6 separate regions of the Homo sapiens genome follow, and regions 2, 3, 4, 5 and 6 are each linked to region 1. Evidence: promoter capture Hi-C in 16 types of primary human blood cells and fetal thymus (Javierre and others, 2016). All regions are on one chromosome and are shown on one strand. Each heading gives the region's core, a stretch centred on a gene start or on the middle of the fragment in contact. The rest is flanking DNA. Distances are from core to core; before and after follow the strand shown.

What was found. The method cuts DNA at HindIII sites, captures the fragments that hold promoters and counts their contacts. A CHiCAGO score of 5 or more calls a contact.
Region 2: a contact is called between a fragment that was not itself captured here and the fragment with the promoter of CCDC170 in region 1, in 1 of 17 cell types (total CD8 T cells). The highest score is 5.3, in total CD8 T cells.
Region 3: a fragment that was not itself captured here is called in contact with the fragment with the promoter of CCDC170 in region 1 in 1 of 17 cell types (M0 macrophages); the score reaches 6.6 in M0 macrophages.
Region 4: a contact is called between a fragment that was not itself captured here and the fragment with the promoter of CCDC170 in region 1, in 3 of 17 cell types (M0 macrophages, monocytes and M1 macrophages). The highest score is 5.7, in M0 macrophages.
Region 5: a fragment that was not itself captured here is called in contact with the fragment with the promoter of CCDC170 in region 1 in 1 of 17 cell types (erythroblasts); the score reaches 7.9 in erythroblasts.
Region 6: a fragment that was not itself captured here is called in contact with the fragment with the promoter of CCDC170 in region 1 in 1 of 17 cell types (M0 macrophages); the score reaches 5.0 in M0 macrophages.

What each region holds. Positions count from the first base shown.
Region 1 is chr6:151,492,498-151,496,011 of GRCh38, forward strand. It overlaps CCDC170 (coiled-coil domain containing 170), which reads left to right and starts at 1,520. Exons shown (of 11, transcript NM_025059.4): 1 at 1,520-1,688. The coding sequence starts at 1,632. The HindIII fragment of the contact is 3,463 bases long and covers 658-3,514 here.
Region 2 is chr6:150,899,435-150,902,813 of GRCh38, forward strand. All of the region lies in intron 7 of MTHFD1L (methylenetetrahydrofolate dehydrogenase (NADP+ dependent) 1 like), which reads left to right. Among named protein-coding and RNA genes, the nearest start is that of MTHFD1L, 35 kb to the left of the region's middle. The HindIII fragment of the contact is 3,392 bases long and covers 1-3,008 here.
Region 3 is chr6:152,123,817-152,127,348 of GRCh38, forward strand. The region is part of intron 145 of SYNE1 (spectrin repeat containing nuclear envelope protein 1); the gene reads right to left. It also overlaps a transcript of ESR1 not described here. Among named protein-coding and RNA genes, the nearest start is that of SYNE1-AS1, 250 kb to the right of the region's middle. The HindIII fragment of the contact is 4,815 bases long and covers 1-3,532 here.
Region 4 is chr6:152,297,447-152,300,855 of GRCh38, forward strand. SYNE1 (spectrin repeat containing nuclear envelope protein 1) reads right to left here. Exons shown (of 146, transcript NM_182961.4): 93 at 3,195-3,335. Among named protein-coding and RNA genes, the nearest start is that of SYNE1-AS1, 81 kb to the right of the region's middle. The HindIII fragment of the contact is 944 bases long and covers 1,599-2,542 here.
Region 5 is chr6:152,274,710-152,278,078 of GRCh38, forward strand. The region is part of intron 98 of SYNE1 (spectrin repeat containing nuclear envelope protein 1); the gene reads right to left. Among named protein-coding and RNA genes, the nearest start is that of SYNE1-AS1, 100 kb to the right of the region's middle. The HindIII fragment of the contact is 7,041 bases long and covers 1-3,369 here.
Region 6 is chr6:152,316,938-152,320,192 of GRCh38, forward strand. SYNE1 (spectrin repeat containing nuclear envelope protein 1) reads right to left here. Exons shown (of 146, transcript NM_182961.4): 85 at 1,926-2,078; 86 at 1,144-1,326; 87 at 1-49. Among named protein-coding and RNA genes, the nearest start is that of SYNE1-AS1, 62 kb to the right of the region's middle. The HindIII fragment of the contact is 2,676 bases long and covers 215-2,890 here.

The sequences.
Region 1 (3,514 bases), core at 270-2,769:
ACCTAGCTAATTTTTGTATTTTTAGTAGAGACAGGGTTTCACTATGTTGGCCAGGCTGGTCTCGAACTCCTGACCTCAGGTGATCCACCTGCCTCAGCCTCCCAAAGTACTGGGATTATAGGTATGAGCCACCTCACCTGGCCCCGCCTTAGCCTTCTGAGTAGCTAGGACTACAGGTGTGCACCACCATGCCTGGCTAATTTAAAAAAAAAAAAAAAAAACTTGTAGAGATAGAGTCTTGCTGTATTGCCCAGGCTGGTCTCAAACTCCTGGCCTCAAGCAATCCTCCCACCTGTTTGATTTCATGTGTCTCAAACAGCATAGGAGTCTACTAAAGGCTTTTTTCTTTTTTTTTTTTTTTTTTTTTGAGGCAGATTCTTGCTCTGTCACCCAGGCTGGAGTGCAGTGGCTCAATCTTGGCTCACTGCAACCTCTGCCTCCCAGGTTCAAATGATTTTCCCTGCCTCAGCCTCTCAAATAGCTGTATTACAGGTGTCCGCTACCACGCCCGGCTAATTTTTGTATTTTTAGTAGAGACAGGGTTTCACCTTCTTGGCCAGGCTGGTCTCAAACTCCTGACCTCAAGTGATCCACCCATCTCAGCCTCCCAAAAGTGTTGGGATTACAGGAGTGAGCCACCGCGCCTGGCCCACCAAAAGCTTTAAAGTGAGGTGAATGCAGATTCCATTTTCAGATTCTGCTACAAATTGTGGGACCTTAAACAAGTTACTCATCTTCTCTGTGCTTTAGTGTTATGATCTGGAGCCTGATCTTCATTCTACCACTTACCCTGTACATCTTGGAAATTTTATTTTATTTCCCTGTGACTGTTGCCTTGTCTTGCAGATGGATTATTCTAACATCCACTTCATAATCTTGTTTCATTTAAGGAGATTGATCATACGTGGGAAGCACTTAGAACAGTGCATGGACGAGCACGAGTATTTCATAATGAGCAGCTGTGGCTGTTACTAACACTGGTATTACTAGTACCCGTACTTCCAGGCAGGGTTGTTGAGAAGGTGAAATGAAAGAACGCACACCAGGGCAGGCTACATAATTTGTGGACCCCGGTACAGAATGAAAATGCAGGACACCTTGTTCAAAACTTCCTAAAAACGTCAAGACTGGGACAGCTGAGTATTAAACCAAGCGCAGGACCCGGACCTGCACAGGTTGCACGCTCGCAGACACATTTGCACACAGTGTGTGCTAAATAAATGCTCCGTTCACCCTTGTGAAGTTTCCTATGCCTCACTCGCGCCAGCACCGTTCACAGTGCCCACTGGCTGTATTTATCGCTGACATAAGGATGAGGCCTGGAATTGCATTCACTGCAGAGTCCCACCGGGAGGACCGACCGTTATCCCCGCCGACTCCCCCCAGGTCGCCCTGGCAGTTTCGGCCGCTCAGTTGCAGGCCCTCGCCACGGAGGCCACGCTCGGGGGTTCGGGGTCCACCCCGGCCTCCTGCGGCCGGGCCACCCTACTCGCGCGCAGCCGCGCGCCGCCGCGTCCCCGCGGTGTTTACCCGTTGCCCGAGGAGACACCCGCGCCACCCGCCGGCTCCCGGCGCCGCCGCTTCCTCAGGGCCGGTTCCGGGTCCGAGCGCGCCCCCGGGCTCGGGTCGTCATGAGCCTGGACTGCACCAGCCATATCGCGCTGGGTGCCGCTTCGCCAGCGCCCGAGGTACGGTCCCAGCCGCCGGCCGCGCGCGGGGGTGGCCCTGGGGATAGACGACCCAGGAGGGGCCGAGGCGCCCCTGATTTGCACCCTTTTCCTCCCGGAGGCGTGGGCAGAATCAGAGCAGCTCTGTGCCCGCGAGGGCTGTGGCCTGGGACTGCCAGGGCGCTGATTTCAGGAGGGGATGGGCAGGACCGGAGTTTGCGGAGCGCGTCTGAATTTTAGGTTGTGCCACTCTGCTTCTCTGACCATTTAAACCGGTGACATTCGAAAGACTGTGGCCGGGCAGTTCCTCCCCGCCACCCCTGGGAGCAAAGAATTCCTTCATTTAACTTTCCCTGCTTAGCTACTGAAGTGTGCTTCGGAGCAATTTCTGGAAAATCTGATGTGGCAGGAGGAGGGCCAGCCCGGAGTAGAGTCACCGGCCCTTTCGTTGCGAAGTAATCCAGAAACGTTGGTAATTCAGTTGTTCCTGAATGCATCTACTCATTTACTCCCAGGAGTTACTTAGGTACTGGGGACTTTCAGGTATTAGATGTACCAATGCGCGCGCGCACACACACACGAACATGCGCGCATACACAGACGCTCGTGCACACACGCGAACAGGCACATACGCGAACAAACACGGGCGCGCACACACACGAACACGGGCATATGCATACTTGGGCGCACAAGAAGATCTGGCTGGCTCAGTCTGGGTTAAGAATCCCCCTTTGGCCTTGGCATCGGGGCCCACCGGGTATCGTGTGTATTGGGAGTAGTTGCCAGAGATGGGGGAATTGTGTTCAGCTCAACTGCTAACCGCAAGTAACTCACCCAATTAGTAAATGATGGAGGATTTTTCTTTCTTTCCAAAGTTTTGGACTTTTCCTACCACGCTGTGTACTGACCATAGATATCCCTGGGGGATGTAGTGGATTCAAAACATGAGTTGGATTCTCCAACGTGCCATCGGAATTCTTCTAATATTCAGCAGCTTTGATTGTTGTTTTACATCTGACCTGTATTTAGATTTCTCTGATTCCTGGAATATTTGTGGAAAATAAGTACCACTGTGTGCAAATAAAACTATTTTTTCTTTCTTTCTAACTCAGAGGCCAGTTACTAGATGTTTTTTCTTTCATCTGACATTTTCATATTTGACTTTATTAATTTTTATCCCAATGTGGTGTCTTAACCATACATAAGTATGTGGTATTTTTATATTATTAATATATATTTTTTTTGGTGAGCCCATTGAGAGTAAATTACAGCCATCATGATTCTTTCTTTCTCTCTCCTTTTTTTCTCTTGTTCTCTCCCTCCCTCCTTTTCTTTCTTTCTTCTTTTTTTCAGACAGGGTCTCACCTTGTTACCCAGGCTCGAGTGCAGTGGCACGATCTCGGCTCGCCGCCGCCTTGACACCCCTGGGTTCAAACGATCCTCTCACCTCAGCCTCCAGAGTAGCTGGGACTCCAGGCATGCCATGATGCCTGGATAATTTTTGTGTTCTTTGCAGAGGCAGAGTTTTATCGTGTTGCTCAGGCTGGTCTCAAACTCCTGAGCTCAAGCGATCCACCTGCCTCAGACTCCCAAAGTGCTGGGATTACAGAGATGCACTACCATGCCTGGTCCCCTATGACCTTTCATCTGTAAATACTCTGGTGTGTTATCTCCTATGAATAAGGGCATTCTCTAACGAACATACAATGATCAAAATCGGGATGTTTAGCATTGTGACAATAATATTATCTAATATACACGACCTACTAAAACTTTGCCACTTGTCCCAATTATGCCATTTATTGCCAATTTTTTTTCCATCTCAGGATCACACACTGTATTTAGTT
Region 2 (3,379 bases), core at 63-2,562, 590 kb before region 1:
GGTAAAATACCTTTTGCTGCAATTGTCATCCCCTTATCTTGCCAAAGTACGACAACATCTGAATGAAGATGGTTTGATGTTCTTAGTTTAGAGTAGTTATACTATTATTTTAACATTCCTATTTAATGATATGTTTTAATACTGCAGGGGAAAGGTAGATACAGATTCATAGCTACAAAGCAATACTCTTATGATCAATGTTCATTTAATTTCAAATACAAAGTTAGACATTCAGAGTTAAAAAAAATTAATGCATAGGCTGGGTGCAGTGGCTCACGCCTGTAATCCCAGCACTTTGGGAGGCCGAGGCAGGCGGATCATGAGGTCAGGAGTGTGAGACCAGCCTGACCAACATGGGGAAACTCCATCTCTACTAAAAATACAAAAATTAGCTGGGTGTGGTGGCATGCGCCTGTAATCCTAGCTACTCAGGAGGCTGAGACAGGAGAATCGTTGAACCCAGGAGGCAGAGGTTGCAGCGAGCTGAGATTGCACCACTGCACTCCAGCCTGGGCCACAGAGTGAGATTCCATCTCAAAAAAAAATAGATATATATATATTTTTTATATTATATTATATATTATATATTTATATTTTTATATATATAAATGAATAAACAAGGCATCTGCTTATGAAACAGTCTGCCTGAATGAAATCTCCATTTGCAGGCAACACAGTCTACAGTAATGGCAGGACTGTATTAGGCATGGTTCCTAATGCCCATTTCTGTAGCAAAGTCACCAGTAGTTCCTAATTGCCAAAAGTGAGTCACCGGTAGTTCCTAATTGCCAAAAGTGTATTTTTTGCTTTTATCTTGCTTGACCACAGCTGTCATATAAACCTGTTGGCCACACCCTTTTCCCTTAGCCTGAATGAAAATGCCCCTTCCTGCCCTTCGTAGCTCCTGAGCCACCAGGACATGGTGGTCTCCATCATCTGTTCGTTATCTCTAACCATTTAAGATTAGTGCTCCCCAAGGATGTCTGTTAACCTGCTTTCCTTCCCATTCTGCCAGTTTCCCCTGGGGAATCCACACTTCTGGTTTTAACCATCACCTAAATGCTGTGTGTCCCGACCCGCATCCGCATGCTCCCAGGCCATTCTCAGTTCCAGACCCGGGCCCCCAGCTTCCTGCAGACGCCTCCTCCAGGAGATCTCAGTATCTTGCTTTTCCTCCTACCCCTTCTAAGGCATTCTCAATCCAGCTTCCAGAGGAATCTTCCTAAAACACATCTGACTGTGTGAGCCACATACTGTAGCCCAACCTGACAGCTTCTTTTCTATATTAAGAAAAAGTGCGGCCGGGCGCGGTGGCTCACGCCTGTAATCCCAGCTCTTTGGGAGGCTGAGGCGGGCAGATCACGAGGTCAGGAGATCGAGACCATCCTGGATAACATGGTGAAACCCTGTCTCTACTGAAAATACAAAAAATTAGCCGGGCATGGTGGCAGGTGCCTGTAGTCCCAGCTACTCGGGAGGCTGAGGCAGGAGAATGGCATGAACCCAGGAGGCGGAGCTTGCAGTGAGCCGGGATCGCGCCACTGCACTCCAGCCTGGACGACAGAGTGAGACTCGTCTCAAAAAAAAAAAAGAAAAGAAAAGAAAAAGTGCACACATTTTGACATCTGAGAAAAGTGATGTTTTTCTTAGAAAAGTGACATCTAACTCTTTATAGAAACTTTGCCACAAGGTAGTCTAGGAGTCCCCTTACTACCTAAGATTTTCATGGACATGCCCTGTCTGATCATAAAGCATGTGGCACAGTGGCTCACGCCTGTAATCCCAACACTTTGGAAGGCCCAGGCGGGCAGATCACTTGAGCCCAGGAATTCAAGACCAGCCTGGGCAACATGGTGAAACCCTGTCTCTACAAAAAATATTTAAAAAACAAAATGAACTGAGCATGGTGAAGCACATCTATAGTCCCAGCTACTTAGAGGCTGAGGTAGGAGGATCGCTTAAGCCCAGAAGTCAGGGCTGCAGTGAGCTGAGACTGCAGTGCCACTGCATTCCAGCCTAGAGGACAGAGTGAGACCCCGTCTCCAAAAATAAATAAATTAATTAAATAAAGCCTTGTGAAGAATCTGCCGTGGAGCATAATGTAACCCATAAAGCCACTTAACTGGGCGCACATAAACTACATAAACTACAGTGTGTCCCAGTTCATTGAGAGTGAAAATCAAGCAAGGGACCACCTCAGTGTGGTAGAGCCCCCTCCCTGCCCTCCAGACCCTGCTCTGTTCTCTGTGTCTGACCATTGACTGGCCATCACTCAGGCACTAGTTGAGAATGCCAATGTCTTTAGTTATTGTAATTTCAGAAGCACATCCTTGCTGGACAAAGAACCTACCTGTTAATTTTTTAAAGTAATGTTCATCATTTTGAACATTGTTTTCTTTCTTTTTTATTCAGCTGACCCTCATGAGGAATTTAACTTGGTTTTCTGAACTGTGTTGGTAACATTTGAAGGACATAGAAACAGTTTTCATAGGTCTCAAGTGATATAAACCACAATTCTTTAGAAAATATCTTTTTTTTTTTACCCATTCTGGATTTTGAAATATATACAGATCTCATACCTCAGATTCTCATATGATATGAACTGTTTCAAAACACATTGATAGCAGAAGATACATACTGTCTTCTAGTCAAGAGGGTAGCGCTGTATTTAGTTTAAAACATTTTAATGCATTTTATTTGCTAAATACAAAATTATAATATTCTGTATAACTTTCCAAATCTCATCTGTCCTCCCTTTCCCCCATCTCTTTATATTCAGATGCTTGTCCCTCCAGCTTAAAAATTCATGACTTTGAGAAAATTCGTCTTCATGTTATCTAAACTACTGCACCCCCACACGCTCCCTGTTAAGTGTCTGCATATCTGTGTCTTACTGTTGTTTAAAATTCACTTGTCTGCCTGGGGAGTGGGGTGGTTTGCTTTAAGCTGCTCCACTCAAGTCTCAGCAGAGAAAGCAATAATTTGTTATGAGATAGAGTTTTAAGCCAAGCTTTGGCCAGGGTCTCTCCCATTTGGGAGGAGGAAAATAGGAACAAGTGAGATGATAATTTTCCTTGAATTTTAGCTCATTAAAATCTTCCCTTGTCCTGGGCAGGCTATTTACTGATTTAAGCATCTAGCACTTTTCCTTTCCAGAAAGAATTAACATCTATGATGCAATCATTGCTAAGGGAGGAGGTTTTTGTGTTTTCTCTGTGGAATTAGCTGTTCTCCAGTTGCAGATGAGCACAGCCCACTTTAGAGTTGTGTGTAGGTATGGAGTTGAGGGGTCGGAATGAGATTTCCAAGATTTATAGGTAATGAAAAGAACAGGTTGTATCAAAGACACCACGTGTAGGAAACTAACTGTTCTTAGGGG
Region 3 (3,532 bases), core at 540-3,039, 630 kb after region 1:
GTGAAAGCTGTATTGGTAACTGTAGGTTTGGTCCAGAAGAAAGCACTATGTTTGTAGCTCACCTATTACCTATTAATTTCTGAAGACAGACTACCCTAATATCGGTGGGGGATGCGGAGTGACACCTAAGAAAATAAATGTTAAAAACAGATAGAATCCCCTTAGAAGGGAACAGAGGGAGTATTCAAAACTCTTTTATTAAACCATCAAAGAAAAATGGGAGAGGGCTGGGCACAGTGGCTCCCGCCTGTAATCCCAGCGCTTTGGGAGGCTGAGGTTGGCGGATCACTTGAGGCCAGGAGTTCAAGCCAGCCTGGCCAACATGGTAAAAATACAAAAATTAGTCAGGCCTGGTGGCGTGTGCCTGTAGTCCCAGTCACTTGGGAGGCTGAGGCAGGAGAATCGCTTGAACCCGGGAGGCGGAGGCTGCAGTGAGCCATGATCGGAACACCACTGCACTCCATCCTGGGCAACAGAGCGAGACTCTATCTCAAAAACAGATATTGGTTCTGCAGAAACCCCAAGAAACAGGCAGCACGCAGTGTTTCTATACACTTCTTGTGGTGTAAGGAAAAATCAAATCACTGGTTTAAATTGGAAGCATGTTCTTTTCTGAAATCCACACAAGTAACGGCAGGGTAATGTAACCTTGAACAACTCACTTCATCTCTAGGTGTCAACCTCTTCACTAACCTCTTCAAATTAGCATAGATGGTCTTCTAACTTTAAAGTTTACTGTTCGATGTTTTTGTCTTCTACTGATTTGTCAGTATAAATAATCTCCCAAGAAGCCACAAGAGCTCAATCACCATCTAGTGGTCAAACTGATTAACTGCCCTTGTGCTAAGACCAATGAGTTATTCCTAATAAGCTGAGGGAAAAAAAAAGTATATTTTGTGAAAATATAGTAGAACATAAAAGAAGTATGTCATATACCTTATTAATGGAAAAGGAAAATAGAAACTTCTTGAGTTACCTGAGCATAAAATATTCATGTTGAGACAGGGCCTTAGAGAGCATCCAGTTCATCTCCTAATTTTGTAGGGGAGTAGCTAAGGACAGTTCATGTTTACTCTTCTAATTGCTAGGCAGCACTCTGAGCATTTATGTTGGGTTCTGTCATTTAATCCCCACAGCAGTCCTCTGCGGTGTGTACTTATTAACTTCATTTTACAGATGATGTGAAAGAAAGCTCAGGGAAGTGAAATAACTGGCTCAAGCTCACACAGCCAGTGGCAGAAGATTTCAACCCTGTGATTTTAACTACCAGAACCTGGAGACTCTAGACAGGCTGAATGACTTGCTTCAGATTCTACAGTTAAAGGAAGAGGCCTAGCAGGGACTCAGGCTTCCAAAATCCCTGCCCACCGCACTCTCTGCTGTGAAATGTTTTGCTGGTTGGTGATAGGAATAATGGTAATGGTAATTCAGGTCGTATTCATTTCACAGGTATCTCACATGTAGAAGCAAAGAAGAGAATCCTGAACTTGCATCCTAAAATATTTGGAAACAAGTGGTTTCCTCGTGTCTAAAGCCTCTGGTCATAAGGCCTCACAGTATCCTGCAGATCATCAAATCCGTGTGTGGACGTGGGGACATTTTGTTTTGAGGCAGTTACATGACCATGGGCAAGTAAATTAGTCTCTCTGGCCTTCAGTTTTCTCATTTGCAATGATTCAATGGTTTGCCTTAAAGTGTCTTAAGAAGGATAGGATAGCTACCCACAAACTTTGGATCAAATTTTCTTCAAAACATCCTTCCCCTGACTTTAAAATATGCCCTGGCAACCAACACTCAACACCTGTAGCTAGATGAGTTATAACAGAGTGACTGAAGAGAGCTCCCACAATTCCTAGTTATTAAATACCTGACTAATTTTCATTAGGAGACATTTAAGAACTTTAGTGATGGGAAGATTTACATATATAATTGATAGTACAATCTGACAGAGCTGAATAGCTCCTGTTTGTCAACTGTTAAATTCTTTGTGCAATTAGGTCAAAGATCAAGATCAAAACAAGGGCTGCCCATTGACCTGTTCACTCCTGAGAAAAATGGCAAACCATTGAATCATAAATCATGACAGCCAAAATAATTTTAGGATATTAATGCACCCCTCATCTTTGCAAATGAGAAAACTGAAGGCCAGAGAGACTAATTTACTTGCCCATTTTTGATAAAAATGTCACCATTTACAGAATGTGGACTCCTATGTTGGAGTCTGTTGAAGGACATGGCACATTTAACAGCATCAGAGCATTTTTTATTAAAATTTAATTTGTGCATGACTTCTAATGCTGAAGAACGCCAAGCTAGGAAGAAGTCATGGGCTGAGATGGGGACAGAGAGAACACACAATATTCAGTGACTGTCCGTGCAGCTGGCTGCCCTTGAAAATATCCGAACTATCCACTGGGAAAATGCCTGTCCCCTTGGGGTAATTACCAGAGTTTCAACATGCCCAAAGCTGCCTCATCTTCAGGGGGAACTTGTTCTAGCGATTTTAGTATCAAGAAGCTAATGGTCCCAGGGAAAGGGTTATTTTTAATATTTAGCTACTGTGCTAAAAATCACCTAAGTTTCTAGAGTCTTGGGAAATTTCATAAGGGAAAGAACAAAGGCAACTTGTTGACTACCCACTGGTCATTCTCCTCTGGTCTTATTACATACATGGATGCCAGTTTAGATTGTGTTTATATAGGAAAAATTAAATGTGTGAGCCTCCTTAAGGAACATCATCAATACAGATATATCAGATAGTTCTGTCCAGCAAAAAACGTGCTTATTTGCTACAAGTAAATTTTTATTTATTTTTCTCACTTCCCTCACTCCTTCAAATTTCCAGGTAAATAGCTGCCCAGGAGTTGCTTCATCTCTGTCCCAAAATACCTAGACAATTGCGGGATAAGGAGAATGGCAGGGAGGGAGTAGTGGCTAAAATCACACCCTTCAAAAGAAAGTGTGTAGGACACACAATTGTGAGAAGTCTGAATGCCATGCACATAGGGTATGACTCACTTTGAAAATTGTTTATAATCAAGGAAATGAAAATGAGTTAATTTCGTGCATGCATCATTTAAAGCCAAATGAGAAGAAACTTCTAATTTATTTTGTTACTTTTCGGCTAACACTGGCAGTATGTAACAGATTTATTTTGCAGAAACATCTAGATTGTCCGTGATCTTGATCCTGCCCTTATGTGTCTTGTCTTTGAAACCCAGTGTTTCCTGGATATATGGTTCAGGAGACAAGTTTCCAGAATCAAGTTAGGACCCAGGTCTTCTTTTTTTCCAAACCAAACATTCTTGCTAATCCTAAACTACCTGAGGCAGCCTGTGGTGGCCTCAGCTCTAAAACCATTGTTTAAAGGCTTCTACCCATCAATGGCCCTTCAGCAGAGTGGTACGGTTAACGGGGTAGGGTCTGGAGTCAGGGGAGACCTGGGTTCAAATCCTACATCTTTACACCTCTAATCCCCAGTGTCCTTGTCTATAAATTGGGAATATAGCCATGTCATGGGATTCTTGTGAGG
Region 4 (3,409 bases), core at 821-3,320, 810 kb after region 1:
GCATTTGCCTGTCCTCACACACACTGTAAGCTCCCTAAGGGCTGTCTGGGTCACTGCTTTTCGTCTTCATCCTGAGCACATTGTGGAGTGTTTGGCAAATAACAGGCAGGCCTATATGTTCATAATAAATCATGCTTGTAAATGCACTTATATAAATTCTATTATTTTATATACATGTAAAGTAATACTATTACTGTCCATAAGGAAAAGCAGGAATGCCTTTAAATGGTGTAAACATTTTACATTAGATACTCTATTATAAATACAGAAGGCTCCCAAAAGAGCTAGAATAAAATAAATTTATTACAAATAATTTTTTTCTGGCAGTCTCACTCTGTGTGTGTGTGTGTGTGTGTGTGTGTGTGTGTGTGTGTGTGCGCGCGCACGTGGCTCATGCCTACAGATATGAATGACAACTCCTGGTTTCTTAAAAGGATTTGAAAATATGTCACCTTTTATAGATGAATAATTTCTATTTATTTGAGGTACATACATAAATTGAATTAAAATAAATCACTCAGTACTATAAATAACTACTAAAGTCAATACTTGATGTAGTGAGGAGTCACTGTTACAAATACGTTTCTCATTGCTTATGTGCCTAAGTTATAAGACTTATGAGTAGATTCCTAAGGAAATAAATTTGGACAACTGTAGCTACTATTTGATCAGTATTTTCTAGTTTAAAAAGCACTTTCACGATTCATGTCACATTTCATTTTCACAATGCTGTGAATTAAGTAGTATTGCTTCTCACTTACAAATGAGGGTATCAAGGGACTTCCCAGGTGCACTCAGCTTAGAGGAGAAAGAGCTGCAACTCAGTGTGAGCTTTTAACTTGAAGGCCAATGATTTTCCCATTACACTCTTGCTCCCTCTTTTCAAATGTATTCCTCCCTCAACTCTTCTGCAGAGTCTAAGCCTTGGCTTGCTTCTAAGGGGAATCAAGAAGCCTACAGCAAAATCTAGGAATGCCTCGGTATTTCTACCTTCAAGTAAGCTAAACTGTTATTACATTTTAGCTAATAGCTACTGTCAGAGACAGAATACACTGTGAGTGGGACCAGGTAGTTATATAACGGAGATCTACTTGCAGGAACAGCAGGCACAAAACCTTTTTTTTTTTTAACAACTGTGATTTTATAAAGCAGTTCTATTTGGCTGCTCCCTGAAACAGCTGTACACATTCTGTGCACAAAACTCAGGGTTTTTAATCTGAAAACTGAAACTTAAGGGGATCCTACATGTCCTCCTCAGTTTCAAGAGACAATTTTATAAATCCAGTGCATCACCGGTCATGGTGTCATATTTTTTCATTGTCTTCTAACTGACATTACTATACAAAAATAACATGTGGCCGTAATGATGGGGTTGATTTGTTTGATGAACACCAAGCATAATACATTTCCTTTTTAACAGCTCCCTCAGAGTAAAGCTGTGTGTCTTAATCTAAGTAAAGGCATTTTCCCCTACTTTGCAGCATCACATGTAAGTATTTTAGATTAACAATGCAATTTAATTGATGTTTTCCTGTGACTAGGGGAGAGGGGAAGAATTAAAACAAAGCCTAATCTCACTGAGTTTTAGGACCTGATGAAGCTTTGTGGTTAATGTCAAGAAATAATAATAGAAATATTTGCATGTTTCATCATTTTTAGGGCACTTTCATGTATCCTTTGACACTTTACAAGAAGTAGCATGGAGATTTACAGTTTTAGAAAAGGTATATTTTTTCCACAAAGTCTCAAATAAGTATTTATTATTCAGTTTGAAAAATTTGAGAACCTAAACCATATTAAATAGAACAATTTTTTCTATATAATAATCAGCCGACTATAGCTTAATTTCTGTAATAACATCTGTAACCATAGGGAAGGACAAATCATCAAAGAATGAGTAATACATATTTTAAAATGAGAATTTGAAAAACACTTTCCCAAATTCCCCACGGCTCCCTGAACTTCTCCTTTTATGTTGCTGTTTTTAGTTTCCTCTGATCACATTGTTATTATCTGTCCCATGTCTGCCTTTCTCTCTAGACTGTCAGGGCCTTGCAGGTAGGGCCATGCTGACTCCTTCTCAGCTGCATCCTCAGGAACCAACACAAGGTTTCACGCTGAGCAGGTGTCAGAATGTACTTGACAAATGGATGAGTTGATAATTTCCCTAGAGCTATCCTGATTTTTACCAAGAGAACAGTGTAAGTGTATTAACTAAAGGTTTCATCACCTTGATGTTCCTTTTTTTTTTTAATGAGGGGGGATTCTCTTTATCACAGAAATCCTATGACAGTCTGAATGCTTCTGCTTTAAAATAAAAGTAATATAATTGAATTATAATACAGGTTATAAAACATTTGCTCTGTTTAATGCTTCTCCCTTAATAATACATATCAACTTCTTTGAAAAAATGTAATTTCATAGAATAGTTTACATTTTTTAGTTGTCTTCACTAAAAAATAAAGTATTACTTAACATGCATTAAAAGTCTTTGGTTACTATAAAGGCATATTTTTGATTTCTATCTAACATTTGACATAAAAGCTTTTTGACATTTAATTTAGTATTATCTACATTTAATACATGGTAAAAGGCTTCTTATAACTAAATGGTTATTTTATTTTCCCCATTTTATAGAAAATAAAATTTAAGATTATTGAAAGATAAGTTAAACACTCAAATCTAGTAGGCATTCTAGTATAAATATGGCAGACATTCCTTACATTGGTACACAAGTTGCAAATAAAGAAGAAGTCTGACATAATAAATGGAAGTTTCCTGTCTTCAAAATCTGAGCTGGTAAATGCCAGCACTATTTTCAATGCATGTTATAAAGCCATCGAATCACGTTATTTTACAATGGTGACACACATCTTTTATTTTCTGTTGGATGCAGAACCCCATTCCAGATGATTGCTGGAAACTAAGGCCATAATGTCTTAAAACAGAGCCTTCTGGGCTATCATTCCCATGACCTAATTTTTGTTCATCCCACTTTCTGTAGCCCAGGAGAGGAGATGACATACTGAGACACATGACAATCATAGTTTGTGCAACTATAACACCTAATAGTGTGTCCCTGGAACCAAATGCAACAAAGTCTGAGATTCATACCCACGATCTAATGGAAACAGAGAATGGAGTCCTGCATCTGCCCAGAGATTATTGCTAGAGGAATGCCAACTGGGAGGTACCTGGTTAACAGAAGCATCTGTATTAGCCACAGGTGAAGGGGAGCGACAGGCAGGTGGAGAGGAAATCTCACTGTTGGTTCCCTCCTCCCCAGACTCCTCAGTGACCGGTGACAGCAAAGTGTGACAGCGACCTGCAGTCATCTGCCACGTAAAATGTAGCCCAAAGGACATGAAAATCAATTAGCTATGTTAACATAAGTCCTGTTCAGGCACAG
Region 5 (3,369 bases), core at 856-3,355, 780 kb after region 1:
CCTCAGCCTCCTGAGTAGCTGGGATTACAGGTTCCCACCACCACACCTGGCTAATTTTGTATTTTTAGTATAGACGGAGTTTCACTATGTTGGCTAGGCTGGTCTCGAACTCCTGACCTCAGGTGATCCACCTGCCTCAGCCTCCCAAAGTGCTGGGATTACAGGTGGGAGCCATGGCCCATTTGTTTATTTTTTTAGTTGGCGTCTCACACTGTCACCCAGGCTGCAGTGCAGTGGCACAATCATAGCTCGCTGCAGCCTCAACCACCTGGGCTTAAGGGATTCTCCCACCTCCTCCCAGCTTCTCCCATCCCAGCTTCCTTAGTAGCTGGGACCACAGGCGTGTGCCACCACGCCCGGCTAATGTTTTTATTATTTGTAGAGATGGGGTTTTGCTATGATACCCAGGCTGGTCTTGAACTTCTGGGCTCAAGCAATTCTCCCTTCTTAGCCTCCCAAACTGCTAAGATTACAGGCATAAGCCACCAAGCCCTGCCAATGTATTAGTTTAAAAGAAGCTATAAAATTATGGGTTTGGGGTATACTGGCAAAGGTTTTCCCTATCCTAAGATTAAAAAAAAAAAATCATACATTGAGTACCTTGCAGACTTAAGTTTTATATTGAAATCTTTGATCCACCTGTGATACATTTTTCTGTAAAATATGGGGTAGAAAATACAGTTTATCACGTTTCAAGTGATTATTTACAGAGTGAGTCATATTTTGTCCACTGATTTGTAATGCCACCTAAAATATTTATCAAATTCCTTTACATACCAAATCTCTTTCTGGAATAGTTATTGTTTAATTTTCTGTTCACATATTTATTGCGCCAACACCAAACTATTTTAATTATTGTAATATTGTATTTTAATATGTGATTAGACTGGCCGGGCATGGTAGCTCACGCCTATAATCTCAGCACTTTGGGAGGCTGAGGTGGGTGGATTGCCTGTGCTCAGGAGTTGAAGACCAGCCTGGGCAACATTGAGAGACCTCCATCTCTACAAAAAATTAAAAAAATTAGCTAGGCAGGTGGTGCGCGCCTATAGTCCCAGCTACTCAGGAGGCTGAGGTGGGAGCATTACTTGAGACTGGGAGGCAGAGGTTGCAATGAGCTGAGATTGCGTCCCTGCACTCCAGCCTGGGTGACAGAGCAAGACCCTGTCTCAAAAAAAAAAAAACAAAAAAAAATCCACACACATATATGATAAGACTAATAATCCCTCAAAACTCTTCATTTTCAAAATTTTATATGGGATATTACATTATTCCTCTAACTTGTTTTTTGTCTATGTAAAAACTATAAATTCTCGACTTCTTTTTTTTTTTTTTTTTTTTTTGAGACAGGATTTCACTCTGTTGCCCAAGCTAGAGCACAGTGGCACAATCTCGGCTCACTGCAACCTCTGCCTCCCAGGTTCAAGCAGTTCTCATGCCTCAGCCTCCCAAGCAGCTGGGATTACAGGCATGCCCCACCACACCCGGCTAATTTTTGTATTTTTAGTAGAGATGGGGTTTCACCATGTTGGCCAGGCTGGTCTCAAACTCCCGACCTCAGGTGATCCACCTGCCTTGGCCTCCCAAATTGCTGGGGATACAGGCGTGAGCCACTGTGCTCGGCTGACTTCATTTTTTAATTTTTATTTTTTGTTGGATTCTTTTATGCTTTTCAATGACCTAACTTCATATTTTTAATAAGCCAGTCATCTTCCTAAATTTCTCCATTGCTTCTAAATAGTTTTTAGTTGATTAAGTTTGGTTTTCCATATCATATAATCATATCATCAGCAAAAAGCCGAAAAAAAAAATACATAGGTTAGTCCTAACAATCATCCTCACACTGAGAAAACAGAAGCAATCACAGTGAACTTCCATGAAGTTTCCGTTAACAATATTTATGTCCTACTTCCTACCAGTATTTGTATTCCAACATAGATGCTTTCCCTCCCTCCTCATTTTACTTGGAGAACAGATTGGCCTGGTCTCAACCATTATTGCAGGAGAAAGGTGTAAATGGTAAAGGAAGGCACAGTTTGGATTAGGCCACAAGAAGGAGCAGATGATACCATCAGATGCTTATAGGGTTGGGGCAGCTAATGGGCTTCTAAACTATTTGGTCCCTGGCTTACTTAGCAAGAAGGGTAGGGAAGACCAAACTCTGCACTCTTTTTTTTTTTTTTTTTTTTTTTTGAGACGGCGTCTCCCTCTGTCTCCCAGGCTGGAGTGCAGTGGTGCGATCTCAGCTCACTGTAACCTCTGCTTCCCAGGTTCAGGTTCAGGAGATTCTCCTGCCTCAGCTTCCCAAGTAGCTGGGACTACAGGCGCCCACCACTATGCCCGGCTAATTTTTGGTATTTTTATTAGAAACGGGGTTTCACCGTGTTAGCCAGGATGGTCTCCATCTCCTGACTTCATGATCTGCCAGCCTTGGCTTCCCAAAGTGCTGGGATTACAGGTGTGAGCCACCGCACCTGGCCTGTGTACTTTTTATCCTATCCGTTTCCTCCCCAACAAGAAGATTGTTCTTGCAATCACACTCCTTTTTCTTTTTCTTTTTTTTTTTTTTTTTTTTTTTTTTGTTATGAGACAGAGTCTTGCTCTGTCGCCCAGACTGGAGTGCAGTGATATAATCTCGGCTCACTGAAATCTCCACCTCCCAGGTTCAAGCAATTCTCCTGCCTCAGCCTCCCGAGTAACTGAGATTACAGGTGTCCACCACAAGGCCCAGCTAATTTTTTTTTTTTTTTGTATTTTTAGCAGAGATGGGGTTTCACCATGTTAGCCAGTCTGGTCTCGAACTCCTGACCTCAAGTGATCTGCTTGTCTCGGCCTCCCAAAGTGCTGGGATTACAGGCGTGAGCCACGGCGCCCTGCCCACATTCCTTTTTCACCAACTTTTCCTCTATTGAGTTATTTCCATCAACGTGTAAACTTATTATTTTTCTGATCTTAAAATGAAATACTCAAATTGTGATGAATGTAAAAGAAAAAAAGAGATAAAATTTTCTTTGACCCACTTCTCCTTATAGCTTATCTCATTCCTCTATATACCACTTTACAGCAACACTCCTGGAGTAGCCTTTACTTTCCCTCTCCAGTTCCTCTCCTCTCATTGTTACTTTCATGTCAGAGTGCTTTTTGCCTCCACCACTCCGCTGAACAGCTGTTGTTAGTAGTCCTAACAAAATCTATTTGCAAATGTTTGCCAAAGTCCAAGAGTGTAAACTTAAAGCTGCATGCTAAAATGTCAGCGTAAAGCAGGTACACACACAAGTACGCGTCACCGCCAACCTGTTCCTTTACCTGGCAAACCTTAGAAGGAGCACGTGAACAGTGTGCCAACTTTCAGCTGTGGGCCAGCGGCTG
Region 6 (3,255 bases), core at 303-2,802, 820 kb after region 1:
TCAAAATTAATTCAAGCATTTCATTGTATTCTTCTAAATGTGATGCTGCCTGAAAAACCAGTAACATTAATGTAACAAATGTAAACTCCTCAGTTTCTTGAGCTATAAATCAGTCTTCTCTCTCTTTGGACACAACAGTCTTAGGGGTTGATCATTATAATACCTATGATATTCAATGGTATCAAAAGATCGTTTCCCTGTTAAAATCTGTCAAAGCTTTCTCAGTGACCTTAGGATAAAGCTCAAGTTCTTAATATGATTGAATTATTCCTCTTTTTCTTTCTTTTTTCTTTTTTCTTTTTTTTTTTTTTCCAAGGTCTTACTGTCACCCCGGCTGGAATGCAGCAGCTGGATCATGGTTAATTACAGCCTCAATCTTACGGGCTCAGCCTCCCACCTCAGCCTCCCACGTAGCTGGGACCACAGGCACGTGCCAACCATGCCCTGTTAAATTTTTGAATCTTTTGTAGGTTTCACCATGTTGCCCAGGCTGGTCTCAAACTCCTAGGCTCAAGTGATCCTTCTGCCTCAGCCTCCCAAAGTACTAGGATTATAGGTATGAGCCACCATGCCAGGCCTTCCTCTATCCCTTCCTTCACCCTCCCCTGGGTAAGGAGGTGGCAAGTGGGGATTCTAGCAGGCAAAGTTTCAAACTATAATTAATGGGTTACCAACTCCTGGTTTTAACTTGTCCCTGATTATATTAATCGATTTCAAAAGTCTAGTCTATATGCAACAATTATTACAGACGTGCAATCTGAATCTATTAAGTCAACGTAAGCTGATATATATGTAGCTTACTTAAAGGTACTTGAATTCACCCCAAACTGATTTCATAAAACACGTTAATGGGTGAATATTCATTCTACAAAATACTTCTCCATTTTACAAAATATTCACTCCAAAGTCCATTTGTAGGACCACCTTTGTCAGTGACTTTATCATATGGCTGGATATAAAGTAAGTGCTGGTTTATACCTAAGTCTTAGGATCACAAGTGTAGCATGAAATAAGCTACACCTAAACTACTCTCTCATTGTCCATTTTATCTTTTTATTTATGTTAATTTATTTTCAAAAGAGAAAAGCAGAACATGGAAGTTTCTGCCTTACACGATTTGGATTTCTGGCCCGGAACACATACCTGATTGAGCTTGGAGAGCCGATTCTCAGCTTGTCTAATGGTCTGCTGGTGAAGTTCAGTCAGTTTTCCTATCTTCTTGGCCAGTGGCTTACCCAGTTGGCCATTCTGTTCCAAGAATTTCTGTACTGCTGCATCTAATTCCATTAACTTTGAATTACAGCCATCTAATTCCTCTCCCAGCACCTTGATGGTCACCAAAATGAAAGAACATTAGAGTACAGAAAATAAATTTCTCCAGGTTTCCCGAGATCAGACTGATTTTTGTCAAAGCCAAATATTATAATGAATAATTCTACTATAATTCTACTATGATCAGGTCATTTTTGTTTCTTCGGTTGGAAAGGCAGGGCAGGATATGTTGTAATGCTGGTGTTTATTTCCTATGAGGCTGAGTGAGAAGGCTAACATTTTCCTTCTGCCCCACCCAAAAAGGATTAGAGTCCCTGAACTCATCAACAGAGGAAGAACACAGATTTAGCTACCAAGGACACAATTCAGTTTGGAATTTATATACTTGTATTCCTAAATCATCACTTAGTCCTTTGACGCTCTTCTTTCGTACACACTCATGCATGTATATTTATTAATACTGTTCAATTATAATGATCAATTATGTAAGAGGATCTGTGTTGCTTCAGTTACAAAATTTCTTTACCACCTGCTGTTACTATTTGGTTTTAAAAAAGGTTCCTAAAAGGTTTTTATCCTATATCCCCAAGTAAAACTGACTCCAAAAACTATTTAATTCATTCAGTAGTACCCTTTAAAATTCTACTTCTTACCTTTTGGTCAGTTTTAGCTTGAACTACATTATCTGTCTTCGCTTTCAGCTTAGTTAGAATAGTTGTGAGGTCTTTAGCTAACTTCTGAATTTGCCGGCTGAGTTCCTGGCTCGTGGCCTTGCTCTGCTCAACTTCTTTTATTTTGTCTTGGATCTAAAAAAATCAGTAAGAACAGCAAAACAAGCCATGGTTAAAAGTGAATAATAGATACTAAAAATCTCAAATGATGTTGACAAGACACATTTTAACTGCTTTGGCATTGAAACACCTGGTCACACCAGCGATGTGCGATTAGTTACAAGCCCTCCTGGCTTTCCCTGACTTCACTATCTTTAAGTATTTACTGCACTCCTTGTGTTCCAGCAAAGATACAAGCAATGTGTGTAGAGAAATTCACTTATTAAATATTTACAGAATACTCATTATAGATGGTTGTGTAGACAGCTGAGTTTGAATCCTATCTTCTCCATTAACTAACGTAATGACCTTGAGCACACAAACTCCTCTAAGCCTTTTTCTTCATAAGATGGAAAATCCTCCCAAACAGTTGGAAGCACACTGATTTGTTTCCAAGCACCTTTTAATAAATGACTCTTAATGATCTGTTAACTCTTTTTGTAACTTTCCGACTACAGCTCTATAGTATGCCAACCAAGCATTAAGTACATCCAATGGAAAGGAAGGTGAAAAAAGACAGTTCGCATTTACAAATTTCCAGTGACTTTGGTTTGATTTGATAACAAACATTCACACTGTTGCTTAGAATAAAATGCCGAAGAAAAGACATTAAAGAGAAGAAACATTTCTTTATGTAGTTAAAGGTCTTTAAAAAAACCTCTTTAGTAGGGAGAAAACACACCATTAAAAGAGAGTTAATGGTGTGTTTTGGCCTTCATTATTTTGAGTGTCAAAGTAAATGAAATACATATGAATAAGGCTATGATAGGAAAATTAATCCAGAGAAAAGCTTAAATTTTAACTAAAAAAACAAACAAACAAACAAAGAAAAACCATGGCTGTGCACAGAGGTGCACACCTGTAATCCCAGCACTTTGGGAGGCTGAGGCAGGCAGCTCACTTGAGGCCAGGAGTTTGAGACCAGGCTGGCCAACATGGCAAAACCTTGTCTCTTTTTACTAAAAATACAAAAAATTAGCCGGGTATGGTGGTGCATGCCTGGAATCCCAGCTACTTGGGAGGCTGAGGCACGAGAACTGCTTAAACCCAGGAGGTTGCAGTAAGCTGAGATTGTTTCACTGCACTCCAGCCTGGGGGACAGAGCGAGACTCTGTCTCAAAAATATAAAAAGACCATGAACTTGCCAAGTCAT